Linked DNA regions of Homo sapiens: region 2 is linked to region 1. The links are contacts of gene promoters, found by promoter capture Hi-C in human tissues and cell types (Jung and others, 2019). All regions are on one chromosome and are shown on one strand. Each heading gives the region's core, a stretch centred on a gene start or on the middle of the fragment in contact. The rest is flanking DNA. Distances are from core to core; before and after follow the strand shown.

The links. Contacts are between HindIII fragments. The study calls those that stand out against the background at their distance.
Region 2: a fragment that was not itself captured here is called in contact with the fragment with the promoter of CYB5B in region 1 in 2 of the 25 tissues and cell types used here (heart left ventricle and liver).

The regions. Positions count from the first base shown.
Region 1 is chr16:69,418,722-69,426,166 of GRCh38, forward strand. It overlaps CYB5B (cytochrome b5 type B), which reads left to right and starts at 5,898. Exons shown (of 5, transcript NM_030579.3): 1 at 5,898-6,136. The coding sequence starts at 5,963. RefSeq lists enhancers at 5,181-5,728, 5,729-6,276. The HindIII fragment of the contact is 13,364 bases long and covers 1-7,445 here.
Region 2 is chr16:69,499,985-69,507,429 of GRCh38, forward strand. No RefSeq gene overlaps it. Among named protein-coding and RNA genes, the nearest start is that of MIR1538, 62 kb to the right of the region's middle. The HindIII fragment of the contact is 5,426 bases long and covers 2,178-7,445 here.

The DNA.
Region 1 (7,445 bases), core at 4,648-7,147:
GGCTCACTGCAACCTCCGCCTCTCGGGTTCAAGCGATTCTCATGCCTCAGCCTCCCAAGTAGCTGGGACTACAGGTGCGTGCCACCATGCCTGGCTAATTTTTTGTATTTTTAGTAGAGACGGGGTTTCACCGTGTTAGTCAGGATGGTCTCAATCTCCTGACCTCATGATCTGCCCGCCTCGGCCTCCCAAAGTGCTGGGATTACAGGTATGAGCCACCACGCCCGGCCAGATGGTTAAGTTTTTGAAAACCATTCAGTGTAATTCACCATATTAACGGAATAAAGGAGGAAAATAATATGATCATTCTGATAGATGTATAAAACATATTCAACAGGCCAGGCACAGTGGCTTATGCCTGTAATCCTAGCACTTTGGGAGGCTGAGGTGGGTGTATCACATGAGCTCAGGAGTTTGAGACCAGCCTGGGCGACACGGCAAAACCCTGTCTCTACAAAAAATACAAAAATTAGCCGGGTGTGATGGTGGGAGCCTGTGGTCTCAGCTACTTGGGAGGTTGAGGTGGAAGGATTGCTTGCAAGCCCGGGAGGTTGAGACTGCAGTGAGCTGTGATCGTGCCACTGCACTTCAGCCTGGGCCACAGAGCAAAACCCTGTCTCAACAACAACAACAACAACCAAAAAAAAAAAAAAAAAAAAAGAAAAGAAAAGAAAAGAAAAAATATTCAACAGGATTCAACACCCTTTCTTAATAAAAACAAAATAAAAATAAAACAAACTCAGGAAACTAGATCCTCAAGATCCTCAAGCTGATAAAAGACATCTACTGAAAAATTATATTAAATTGTGAAAGACTGAATGCTTTCCTCCTAAGATTAGGAACAAGACAGGGATGCTAACTTCACCATTTCTATTCAACACTGTACTGAAAGTCCTAGCCAGTGCAACAAGGCAAGGAAAAAAGAGGCATACAGATTGGGAAGAAAGGTGGAAGCAAAGCTGTCTCTATTAGCAGACGACATATTTATTACATAGATAATTCTAAGAAATCCATAAAATAATTACAGGAACTATAAGTGAATTTGGCAAGGTATAAGATAGTAAGTCAATGTACAAAATCAATTATATTTATCTAGACTGGCAGCAAACAATTGGAAAATGAAATAATTTCATTTATAGGGGCATTAAAAAACGAAACATTTAGAAATAAATTTAATAAAAGATGCTAAAGATGTCTACATTGAAAACTACAAATTAAACTGAAGTAAATGGTTCATGAAATGTAAGGTTTTTAAGGTGTCTTTTTTCTGTAAATTCATCTATAAGCACTTTTGTAAAATTAAGAAGCTGATTTTTTTTTTTTTCTTCTAGAAACAGGGTCTCACTCTGCCACCCGGGCTGCAGTGCAGTGGCACAATCATAGCTCACTGTAGCCTCCAACTCCTGGGTTCAAGCAATCCTCCTGCCTCAGCCTCCCAGGCAGCTGAGACTATAGGTGCCCACCACCATGCCCAGCTAATTTTTACATTTTTTTAAAGAGATGAGGTCTTGCAGGCCAGGCACAGTGGCTCACGCTTGTAATCTCAGCATTTTGGAAGGCCGAGGTAGGCGGATCTCCTGAGGTCAGGAGTCCAAGACCAGCCTGGCCAACATGGTGAAACCCTGTCTCTACTAAAAATACAAAGAAATTAGCTGGGCATGGTCGTGGGCACCTGTAATCCCAGCTACTCAGGAGGCTGAGTCAGGAGAATTGCTTGAACCCGGGAGGCGGAGGTTGTACTGAGCCTAGATCATGCCACTGCACTCCAGCCTGGGTGACAGAGTGAGACTCGTCTCAAAAAAAAAGAGATGAGGTCTTGCTATGTTGTCGAGGTTGGTCTTGAACTCCTGAGCTCAAGCAATCCTTGTGCCTCAGCCTCCAAAGTGCTGGGATTACAGGAATGAGCCACAGTGCCCAGCAAAAAATAATAACTTTTTTTGTAATAATTTTAGATTTACAGAAAAGTTGCAAAAATAATACAATGAGTTTCTGTATACTCACTCAATTTTCCATAAAGATAGCATTTTACATTACCATAATATGTTTGTCAAAAGTAAGAAATCAACACTGGCACCTTACTGTTTTATTTGGATTTCACTAATTCTTCCCCAGTGCCCTTTTTCTGTTCTAGGATCCAGTCCAGGATACTATACTGCGTTTAATTGTCATGTCTCCTTAGTTTACTTGAGTCTGTGACAATTTCTCAATCTTTCCTTTTTTTTTTTTTTTTTTTATGAGCTTGTCAGTTTTGAGGAGTACTGGTCAGGCATTATGTAGAATGTCCCTCAGTTTGGGTTTACCTGATGTTTTTCCCATGCTTGGACTATGGTTATGGATTTTGTGGAAGAATGCCACAGTGGCAACATGCCCTTTTCATCACATCACACCGGGGGTACATGCTGTCAACATGATTTATTATGGAGATGTTTTAATTTGATCACTTGGTCAACAAGCTGATTTTAAATTGTGTGTGGGGCCGGGCATGGTGGCTCATGCCTGTAATCCCAGCACTTTGGGAGGCCGAGGTGGGCGGATCACCTGAGGTCCGGAGTTTGAGACCAGCCTGGCCAACATGGTGAAACCCCCTCTCTACTAAAAATATGAAAATTAGCCAAGTGTGGTGGTGGGGGCCTGTAATCCCAGCTACTCTGAACCCGGGAGGTGTAGGTTGCAGTGAGCTGAGATTGTGCCATTGCACTCCATCCAGTCTGGGTGATGAGAGTGAAAAAAAAAAATGTATGTGGAAATACAAAGGATCTAGAATAGCAAAAATAATTTTCAAAAGTTAAGAGCAAAGCTATAAGACTTATATTACCTGATTTAGTGCCTTACAATAATCAAGACTGTGGAATTGGCACAAGGATAAACAAATAAGTCATCGGAACAGAGTAGAAATTTCAGAAGGAGAACCACACTTATATGATCAATCAATTTTCGACAGATACAGGAAAACAATTCAAGGGGGAATTGTGTTTTCATCAAATGGTGCAGGAACAAGTGGGTATCCACATGGAAAAAAAGAGGCTAAGAAACCTGCCCAAGGTCACCAAGTTTGTGAGTGGCAGGGACAGGTATTCCAAGCCAGACTTTCTGGCTAACATGTGCTATCAATTGTAAATATAAATTTATAACCAAAACATTTAGGTCACAATAATTTTTCAGTGTAAAATTCAATTTGAGGCTATACTATTTAAAAATGTCAATGTCATGAAAGCAAAAGCAAAGTTAAGGAAATGTTCTAGATTAAAGGGGACTCAAGAGACTTAGCTAAGTGCAATACATGATCCTGAACTGGATCCTGGGTCATACAGGCACACTAAAATTTCACAAAGGACATGAATGCAATAATGGAAAATAATATGGAGAGTATGTTAGATAATAATTTTGTGTGAATGTTAAATTCTCTGAATTTGAAATTCATACTGCAGTTACGTGACAATATGTTCTTATTTTTAGAAGATACATGTAGAATTATTTGGCTGTAAAGGGTGGTGATATCTGAAATAGTTCAGCATTATTAACAACAATGATCAAAATAATATGGAAAAAATCAAATATTGAAAAATATTAACAGTTGGTAAACCTAAGCTAAAAGTATATGGTCATTCATTGTATTATTCTTGTAACTTACTTATTTGAAATTCTAAAAACATTTTCAAATATAATGTTACAGGTATATATCACTTAAGTGCTAGAATTTGTAATTTTTTTATTTTTTATTTTTATTTATTTATTTTTATTTTTTTGAAACAGGGTTTCGCTCTGTCATCCAGGCTGGAGCACAGTGGTGCGATCATACATCACTGCAGCCTCGACTTCCCAGGCTCAAGCCATCCCCAGATCTCAGCCTCTCAAATATCTGGGATTACAGTTGTGTGCCACCATGCGTAGATAATTTTTGTATTTTTTGAAGAGACAAGAGCCTCACTATGTTGCCCAGCCTGGTCTTGAACTCCTGGGCTCAAGTGATCTGTCCACCTCGGCCTCCCAAAGTGCTGGAATTACGGGGCTTGAGCCACCACATTCAGCCTGTAAATGTTTTTATTTCTTTCAGAGATTTTGTTTCTTATGTTATCTCTCTACTCCCAATGCCTATCATAAGACTTGTAACAGTAAATAGTAAATGTCTGGAATAAATGTAAATATTTGAATCTAGAGTTTGTGGAGGATCCTAAGAATCTTGTGAGATTGCTCTCATAGTGTCAGTCTAACTAGGGAGGTAAAATACGTAAAGTTAAAATTTACAGACGTAGCAGGCTTCCCAAAATAGTAATATGCTTTCTTAGGTACTACAAAGGGATGGAAGCACTGGAGCTCAAAACGGTAGGAGAAGTTTGAAAATAGAAGAAACTGAAGAGGAACTTGAAAAGCCGGTAGGCATTGAAAGGAAGAGGAGTCCTTGGGACAGCAATTGAGGGTAGAATGTGGAGTATCCCATGTTTCTACCACCATTCAGAATCCGATTTTCAAATGAATTCTGTGATGATCAGGATCAATCTGCACTATTTTAGTCTCTAAGTGATCTAAAATTAACTTGGTGGACCTGGGATGACCACGGATGTGGTTTTAAACCAGCAGGTTTCAGAGTCGGGGCGGGTGCAACAGGCTTATAAAGGGAATGGTGGAAAATATTATACGTTAGTGAAAGAGGTTGCGAATGGATTGTGGAGAGCCCTGAATGGTAGACTGCGAGAGTGACAGGATGAAAACGACGACATCATAGGAAGAGCAATCTGTCAGTTGTAATGGCAGTTAAAAAGTGGCGCACAACACTGTACCTTAACCAAACTTGGAATTCCAAAGTGCTGGGACCTCTAGCGGAGAGCAGTTGAGTTCAATTCTATTTTAGATCACGTAGAGACTAAAATAGTGCCGATTGATCCTGATCATCACAGAATTCGTTTGAAAATCGGATTCTGAATGATGGTAGAAACATAGGATACTCCACATTCTACCCCCAATTGCTGTCCGGGACAGCAATTGCCTTTCTAATCGACTGCCATGTTTAGCGATTACTATGCGCCAAGCGCTTTACAGGCACTCTCATTAAAATAGGCAAACCGGGCCAGGCGCGGTGGCTCACGCCTGTAATCCCAGCACTTTGGGAGGCCTACGCAGGCGGATCACCTGAGGTCAGGAGTTCGAGACCAGCCTGGCCAACATGGTGAAACCTACTCTCTACTAAAAATACAAAAATTAGCCGGGCGTGGTGGCGCATGCCTGTAGTTCCAGCTAGTCGAGAGGCTGAGGTAGGAGAATCGCTTGAACCTGGGAGGCGGAGTTTGCAGTAAGCCGAGATCGTGCCACTGCACTCTGGCCTAGGAGACAGAGCGAGAACTTGTCTCAAAAAAAAAAAAAAAAAAAAAAAAGGCAAACCCCTCTGTAAGAGAGTGCTTTATCAAGCCCATTTTACTGATGGGGAAATTGAGGAGAGACGGGATTGGCCAGATCACGACCTGGAGGCAGCAAAGATGTAAAATCAGGGTTGGGATACAGGCTGCGCCGGTAGTGTAGGGGATAGGAACTTTCTGAGACTCAGGAGAAAGCCACAGCGATGGGAAGGGAAGCAGAACACTGGAGACCCTAAAGGCCCACAGGCTGAGAGAAGTGGTACCTCTCCTGAAGTGACACCTGTCAGCACGCCTCTTTTGGGCGCCAGTCCAAAAATCGCGGTATCTGATTGGCGAGGTTGGAGGGGGCTGAACGACCCTAATTGGTTAGTTGGACCTCGAACCAGACTTTCATCTGGAGGATCGGGCGAGGAGTGGGCGGGATTTCGAACTGAGCCACTCCCTTCATTGGTGAAAAGAAAACGAACCAGGAACTATTCGGAAGTGTGATTGGCTGTTGCTAGGAACCGTCTCAAGGCCTTATGGGCCCTGGTTACGGAAGCCGAGGAAGGCTGAGCGCGGGCTCTCAAGGAAAGTAGTCGCGGAATCTCAGTTAGCGGTGGAGAGGCAGTATGTCCGGTTCAATGGCGACTGCGGAAGCTAGCGGCAGCGATGGGAAAGGGCAGGAAGTCGAGACCTCAGTCACCTATTACCGGTTGGAGGAGGTGGCAAAGCGCAACTCCTTGAAGGAACTGTGGCTTGTGATCCATGGGCGAGTCTACGATGTCACCCGCTTCCTCAACGAGGTGGGGCCTGGGAGGTGGGAGGCCTCTGAAGCTGCTGGGGCGAGGGGTGAAAAGGCTGTGTGGAGTGTATGTGGGAAGGAAGGGAGGCTTGGCTGGGGGCGATAAGGCGTAAGAAAGGGATCACGACCCTCAGAGGGAAACTGGGGTGGGATTGGGGGAGGGCTTTAGTTTGCATGCATTTCCAGTCAGCTCCGAGTTCTGGTGCCTTATGTAATATCATGTATTACTTATGTGTCGAGCATTTGCTGTGTGCTCAGCTAAACTCTAAGCCATCATTATCTTTATTTTACAGAAAGGGAAACTGAGGCTCACAGGTTGAGGACTCTCAGGGCCATAGAGTTAGCAGCTTAGATCCGTTGAACCTAGGTCTGAAGTGCACCCACATCTGTGCTTTTCCAGTGTGCCTTCTGAAGTAATACCGGTTTTGGTTTTCGTCTTCTAGAGTAGAAGCTGAGATTTCTCTCCACACGCTTCCCCATCTTGATTATGCCTCCACTGTTTTTTTTTCCCCCTAATCTGAGTTGACCTTGAGGCCAGAAACTCATAAATCAACCCTTTTTTTTTGTTTTTGACTCATGTTTTGTCATTTTTCTTAAATATTCAAGACTGTTTTATTTAATCTTCAAGTCTGTTGCATTACATCTCATTTTAAAAATTATTTTTGAGACCATGGTGCAACTAATTTTTTTTTTAAGGAAACAGGATAGACTTCTAAATATTTAAAACTTTATTGAGGTGTAATGTACATACGTAAATTGTGCCTATCTAAAATGTACATTTTGATGAGTTTTGAAAAATGTATTCATCCATGTTAAGACATAAACCATTTCCATCATTCTAAAAAGCTTCCTTTCCCTTTGCAGTCATTCTCTCCCAACCCCAGGCAACTAGTGATATGCAGCCGCTAAAGATTGGTTTGAAGCTTTGATTTTCGGTGTGTGTATGTTTGAAGCTTTGATTTTCGGTTTGTGTGTGATCATTTTATTTTGAGCAATAGATTAATGACTTGTGAAAGTTCACTTCTATTTCTCTGAAGCAAATATACTAGTGAAATATTTTTTCGATTAATTTGGGGCCTAAAAGAGAAATCTCTGCATCCTGACTTTTAATTCTAAAAACTTTTAAAATTTAAAAGTTTCCCCCAAAGAACATTATTTTTAATAAATCTTAATAGTGAACAATAATTTAACAAACTCAGAATTTACTAACTTCTTGCATTTGTATGGTGTATGGCATTTTATGCTTTTAAAAGTGCTTTCCGGTCGGGCGCGGTGGCTCACGCCTGTAATCCCAGCACTTTGAGAGGCCG
Region 2 (7,445 bases), core at 3,641-6,140, 80 kb after region 1:
CTGGTGCCCTTTCCACTTCCTCTCACTGCTAATTGGAAGGCAGTGGGTTGGCTCCCGCAGGCGATGGTGATACTCAGTTTTGGATGGCATTGAAACTATTTCATAGACTTCATATTTGGTGAATTCTGAAGGCCAAAGGGCCTGTGTGTTGCACTTGGGTGTTCTCTGGGCCTTGACCGGAGGATCTGTTTCTTATGTTCATGGAGCTCTCGGCCGCCTCTTCCACATCTGCTGGACTAGGAATCAGGGTGGGTGCCTTAACCTCTGATGCTGTGGCATCTTGGGGAGGGGTTTTCTAACTCACGCAAGGATATTTGGTTAATTCCGCAGCTCTGAGATGTTCTTGGAAACTTGGGGGTTTTATACCATGGTGTTCTGGCCAGGTTGCTTCTGATCTGGAGGGAAAGGGAGAGGTTTCTGCCTTCTGGCCCAGGGCCCAACTCCACAGAAGGATGTACTCAATCTTAAAGAGCAAGAGGGCGGATGCGGACACGGCCTAGCCTGAGACCTCACGGGGAGCCACTGAGATGTCCCCAGATCAGAGGTAGGGGTGAAACATGTAGAGACTGACTGAGGGGCTGACCCTAGGGTCACAAGGACAGTGCAAAGTTTTGGTAGTGCTGGGCTTCCTAACAGCTGCCAGGAGATGCTGTCAACTCAGACAGTTGTCACCTCCAGCTCCCAAGACACAGCAGCAGCATGGCCATGCGGGTAGCCATCTGACCTCGACCTCTACTTACCATTCCACATTCCATGAACAAATGATGACACCACGGCCTCTCCTGTCCTGTCTTTGACAGAAGAGCCTCAGCAGTTTCCTTTTATTTTTTAACATTTTTTATTTAATTAAATTAAATAGAGAGAGAGTCTCACTATATTGCCCAGGCTGGTCTCAAACTCCTGGCCTCAAGCAATCCTTCTGCCTCTGCCTCCCAAATTGCTGGGATTACAGGTGTGAGCCACTGCACCTGGCCTCCTTTCATTTTTTAAAAACTTTTTATTTTGAAAAATTTCAAATTTACACAAAAGAAACAAACAGAATATTATAAGGAGTTCTTGCATATCTTTCACTCAGATGCATTAATAACGTCCTGTTGCATTTGTTCTCTCTTTTTTTTTTTTGAGATGGAGTTTCACTGTGTCACCTAGGCTGGAGTGTATGGGTGCAATCTTGGCCCACCGCAACCTCTGCCTACTAGGTTCAAGCGATTCTCCTGCCTCAGCCTCCTGAGTAGCTGGGATTACAGGCATGTGCCACCATGCCCAGCTAATTTTTGTATTTTTAGTAGAGACGGGGTTTCACTATGTTGGCCAGGCTGGTCTTGAACTCCTGGCCTCAAGTGATGCACCCACCTCGGCCTCCCAAAGTGCTGGGATTATCTCTTTCTCTTCCTTTCTCCATAAACGTGTGTGTGTGTGTGTGTGTGTGTGTGTGTGTGTGTGTGTTTGTATACTTTTTTTCCTGAACAACTTGAAGGTTAAGTTGTGGACACATTTATACACTAATCTTTGAGTGTGTATTTCCTAAGAACAAATCTGTTTTATTATATGACCAAAATATAATTAGAAAATATAGGAAAGTTAGGCTGGGTGCGGTGGCTCACACCTGTAATCTCAGCACTTTGGGAGGCCGAGGCAGGTGGATCACAAGGTCAAGAGTTTGAGACCAACCTGGCCAACATGGTGAAACCCTGTCTTGCCTAAAAATACAAAAATTAGCCAGGCATGGTAGCGGGCACCTGTAATCCCAGCTACTCAGGAAGCTGAGGCAGGAGAATCACTTGAACCCGGGAGGCGGAGGTTGCAGTGAGCCGAGATTGTACCATTGCATTCCAGCCTCAGCGATAAGGGCAAGACTCCATCTCAAAAAAGAAAAAGAAAATGTAGGAAAGTTAAACTTGATCCTGTTATCTAATACTGAATACTGTTATCTAATCTATAATTGGTATGCCAAATTTCACCAGTTTCCAATCACGTATCTTACAGCTATTTTTTCTCAGTCCAGGCTACAATCAGGATGCGCATTACATGTTGTTGTCAGGTGCTATTACTCTTCTTTCATCTAGAAGTGTTGCTCAATCTTTCTTTGTCTCTCATGTCCTTGGGAGTTTTCTAAATGAAAGTAAATCTGAAAGCATTCTCGTGGCTGTGACTTCTCTAAATGCTAACTCAGGGGGAAAAAAAAGGAAAGAAATACTTTTCAGTTCCTTGCCTTTGAAGCCTCCGGACAGGTGGGTTTGACAACATCTATTTTGGTCATGCCTGGGCAGTTCTGGCTTATCCATCTACACTAGTCTCAAATGATCCTGGGATTTGCTCTTGGGTACACAGTAGATGCTTAATAAGTAACTTGCTGATGTGCCAGGAGAGAAAGTGAATTGGACCACTGGGTGGAATAACTCAAATGACATTCCAGGAAGGTTTTGCTGCTGTAGATAGAGAGACAAAGGGCTGGCTCTTTCAGGCTGTGTCAGCCCAAGGGCAACATGCAGTCTTGGACTTCATTATCTTATTTCTATTACATAGTGCACTAAGGTTCTCTTTCTCCTCAAATTCCCCAGCAGGAGAGATAGGACTTTCCACTGCAGGCTGTTCAATTCACCAAGAAGAGGAAGCAAATCACAGATCCTGACAGATCCTGCTGTCAGGACTTGGCCAATTTTGAGATGTAATTAAAAAAAATTGTTTATTTTTATTAAAAAAAAAAAGAGTTGGAGTCTCTATGTTTCCCAGACTGGTCTTGAACTCCTGGGCTCAAGTGATCCTCCTGCCTCGACCTCCCAAAGAGCTGGGATTACAGGTGCTCAGCAGACATGTAATTTTTGATCTCCAGCCTGGGGTGTATACATCTGGATTATTTCCTCAGGAATAAGAGAACAGAGCCTTGAAATCAACCTGTTTGAAATCAGCCAGCCTCCAGGATGATCCCGGTCTACGGCCATAGCACCTTGAATGCATCTGATCTCATCTTTTTTTGTTTGTTTGTTTTGTTTTGAGACGGAGTCTCACTCTGTCACCCAGGAGTGCAGTGGCACAATCTCGACTCACTGCAGCCTCCCTGCTTCAAGCGATTCTCCTGCCTCAGCCTCCCGAGTAGCTGGACTACAGGTGCCCGCCACCACACCCAGCTAATTTTTTGTATTTTTAGTAGAGATGGGGTTTCACCCTGTTAGCCAGGAGGTCTCGATCTCCTGAACTTGTGATCTGCCTGCCTCGGCCTCCCAAAGTGCTGGGATTACAGGCACTACCCATCACGCCCATCCTGATCACATCTTTTCTTGGAAGCTAAGCAAGGATGGGCCTCGTTAGTACTTGGATGGGACACCAAGATGGTCCCTGCTGATCCTACCACCCCTGGTATCCACCTCTTCCTGTAGTCCCTTTCCTATGAATCAGGGCTGGCATACATGAACAATACAATAGGGTGACAGTGACTGGGTGTGACATCCGATGCTTAGTCATAAAAGATAATGCAGCTTCCACACTCATCTCTTGTCTAGCTTGTTTTGGAGGAAGCCAAGTTCTTTGAGCATACTCAGGTGTCCATGTGGACAGGACCTGAGGCGCCCAGCCAATAGCTGGCACCAACTTGCCAGCTATGTGAGTGAACCACCTTCAGTGTGGATCCTCTAGCTCCAGGCCAAGCCTTCGGATCCTTGCCACACTGACCAGCATCTGACTGCAGCCTCACGAGCAACCTGGAGGGCTCCAAACACCTGACCCTCAGAAACTGTGAGTGATAATAATTATTGTTTTCTGCCAGGCACAGTGGCTCACGCCTGTAATCCAAGCACTTTGGAGGCCAAGGCAGGTGGATCACCTGAGGTCGGGAGTTTGAGACCAGCCTGACCAACATGGAGAAACCCTGTCTCTACAAAAAATACAAAATTAGCCAGGCGTGGTGGCAGGCACCTGTAATCCCAGCTACTCGGGAGGCTGAGGCAGGAGAATCGCTTGAACTCGGAAGGCAGAGATTGCAGTGAGCCGAGATCGCACCACTGTACTCCAGCCTGGGCAACAGGAGTGAAACTCTTGTTATCTTATTATTATATATTATTATTATTATTATTGTTATCTTAAGCCATAAAGTTTTGGGGCAATTTTCTACACAGCAGTAGGTAATTCATATGATTCTCTTGAAAAGTATAAAGAGAGGTCGGGCGCGGTGACTCACGCCAATAATCCCAGCACTTTGGGAGGCTGATGCAGGCAGATTGCTTGAGGTCAGGAGTTGGAGGCCAGCCTGGCCAACATGGTGAAACCCCATCTCTATTAAAAATACAAAAATTAGCCAGGTGTGGTGGTCCATGCCTGTAATCTCAGTTACTCGGGAGGCTGAGACAGGAGAATCACTTGAACCCTGGAGGTGGAGGTTGCAGTGAGCCAAGATCACACCACTGCACTCCAGCCTGGGCGACAAGATTCTGTCTCAAAAAGAAAAAGAAAAAAAAGAAAAGTATAGGGCTGGGCGCGGTGGCTCACGCGTATAATCCCAGCACTTGGGAGGCCGAGGCGGGCGAATAACAAGGTCAGGAGATCGAGGTCATCCTGGCTAACACGGTGAAACCCCCTGTCTACTAAAAATACAAAAAATTAGCCGGGCATGGTGGTGGGCGCCTGTAGTCCCAGCTACTCAGGAGGCTGAGGCCGGAGAATGGCGTGAACCCGGGAGGCGGAGCTTGCAGTGAGCCGAGATCGCGCCACAGCACTCCTGCATGGGCGACAGAGCGAGACTCTGCCTCAAAAAAAAGAAAAGAAAAGAAAAGTATAAAGAGGCACATGACCCAGAAATTTAACTCCTAGGCATATGCCAAAGAGAAATGAAAACATGTCAGCCAGATGTGATGGCTCAAGCCTGTAATCCCAGCACTTTGGGAGGCCGAGGGCAGGCAGATCACTTGAGGTCAGGAGTTCCAGACCAGCCTGACCAACATGGTGAAACCCCATCTCTACTAAAATACAAAAATTAGCTGGGCATGGTGGTGCACACCTGTAATCCCAGCTACTCAGGAGGCTGAGGCAGGAGAATCGCTTGAACCCGGGAGGCAGAGGTTGCATTGAACCAAGATCGCGCCACTGCCCTTCTGCCTGGGTGATAGAGCGAGACTCCGTCTCCAAAAAAAAAAAAGAAAAGTCCACACCAAAACTTGTACCCGAATGTTCATAGCAACATTATTCATAATAGCCAAAAAATGAAAACAACCCAAATGTCCATCAACTGATGAATGAATAAAGGAAATGTGGGGCCAGGCGCATTGACTCATGCCTGTAATCTCAGTACTTTGAGAGACTGAGGCAGGTGGATTGCTTGAGTCCAGGAGACCAGTCTGAGCAACACAGTGAGATCCCATCTCTACAAAAAATACAAAAAGTAGCCAGATGTGGTGATTGGCATGTGCCTGTAGTCCTAGCTACTCGGGAAGCTGAGACAGAAGGATCGCTTGAGCCCAGGAGTTGAGGCTACAGGGAGCTGTGATCACGCCACTGCACTCCAGCCCGGGTAACAGAGCAAGACTCCCAACTGGGGGTGGGCAAAAAAAAAAAAAAAGGCGGCCAGGCACAGTGGCTTATGCCTGTAATCTAAGCATTTTGGGAGGCCGACACGGGTGGATCACAAGGTCAGGAGTTCGAGACCAGCCTGGCCAAGATGGTAAAACCCTTCTCTACTAAAAATACAAAAATTAGCCAGGCATGGTGGTGGGTACCTGTAATCCCAGCTACTTGGGAGGCTGAGGCAGAAGAATCGCTTGAACCTAGGAGGCAGAGGTTGCAATGAGCCAAAATTGTGCCACTGCACTCTAGCCTGGGTGACAGAGCAAGACCCTGTCTCAAAAAAAAAAAAAAAAAAAAAAGAAAAAAAGAAAAGACAAAGACAGGGAGGAGCAAAATAATGAAAGAATAATTCTAACCTACTAGACACTGTACAATGAGAATCATGAATTGTAATCCCAAGATTTTCTTGCCTTTGGGGAAGAAATTAATAGTATTAATAGAATCCAGATTCCTAATTAAGTCCTGGTGAGAATATGATGCTTCTCTCGTCTGAGAATGACAGCCATTGTCAAGAGCAGCCTTGACCCACTGAAGCTGTAGCCCAGGTGTTAAGACCAGATTTTAAAAAATCAACTCAGATTGCTGATGTTTTAGCCCAGGGCATTTGTTGTGAACTCCCTGGAATTACAGATAAAAAATGGTTCCATTTCATTTATACATACCAATATGTGGGGTTCCAAAAAGTTTTGTAATTATTACTTTCAAAATAAAATCTGATCCTACTTATTCCTGTCTCCTCATTCAAAATGTTCTTTAGAAATAATTCTTTAGCTGGGTGCAGTGGCTCACACCTGTAATCCCAGGACTTTGGGAGGATGAGACAGGCGGATCACTTGAGCTCAAGAGTTCAAGACCAGGCTGGGCAACATGGTGAAACCCCGTCTTCACAAAAAATACAAAAATTGGCCGGGTGTGGTGGCTCACACCTGTAATCCCAGCACTTTGGGAGGCTGAGGTGGGTGGATCACCTGAGGTCAGGAGTTTAAGACTGGCCTGGCCAACATGGTGAAACCTCCCTCTCTACTAAAAATATAAAAATTAGCCAGGCGTGGTAGTGTGTGCCTATAGTCCCAGCTAGCTACTCAGGAGGCTGAGGCAGGAGAATCGCTTGAACCTGGGTACAAGCTTGAACCTCAAGCAGAGGTTGCAGAGAGCCGAGATAGCACCACTGTACTCCAGCCTGGGCAACAGAGCAAGACTCCATCTCAAAAAAAAAAAAAGTACAAAAATTAGCCAGGTGTGGTGATGCGTGCCTGTGGTTCCAGCTACTCAAGAGGCTGAGGTGGGAGTATTGCTTGAGCCTGGGAGGTCAAGGCTGCAGTGAGCTGAGCTGTGACTGAGCCACTGTACTCCAGCCTGAGAGAGAGAATGAGCTCATATGTCTAAAAGATAATAATAATAATTTTTTATTGTTCAGAATTAACTTTTATAATTTTAGAGACCAAGGATAATCGAGATAGCCTGTAATTATTTAGCATAAATAAAGGAGAGAGACATGAAGACTTGTTTTTTGTTTTGTTTTCGTTTTAGACACAGGGTCTTGCTCTGTCACCCATGCTGGAGTGCAAAGGGATAATCAGCTCACTGCAGCCCCTAACTCCTGGGCTCAGGTGATCCACCTGCCTCAGCCTCCCGAGTAGCTGGGACTACAAGTGTATGTCATCATGCCCAGCTAATTTTTGTATTTTTTGTAGAGACAAGGTTTCGCTATGTTGCCCAGGCTGTTATTGAGCTCCTGGCCTCAAGCAATCCTACTGCCTCAGGCTCCCAAAGTAATGAGATTCCAGGAGTGAACCCCCATGCCTGGCCTATAAAATGTTTTTTAACCTTTATTTAAGGTAAATTGTCGTCCCATTTTGCACATGAGGAAAGTGAGACCGAATGGATAATTA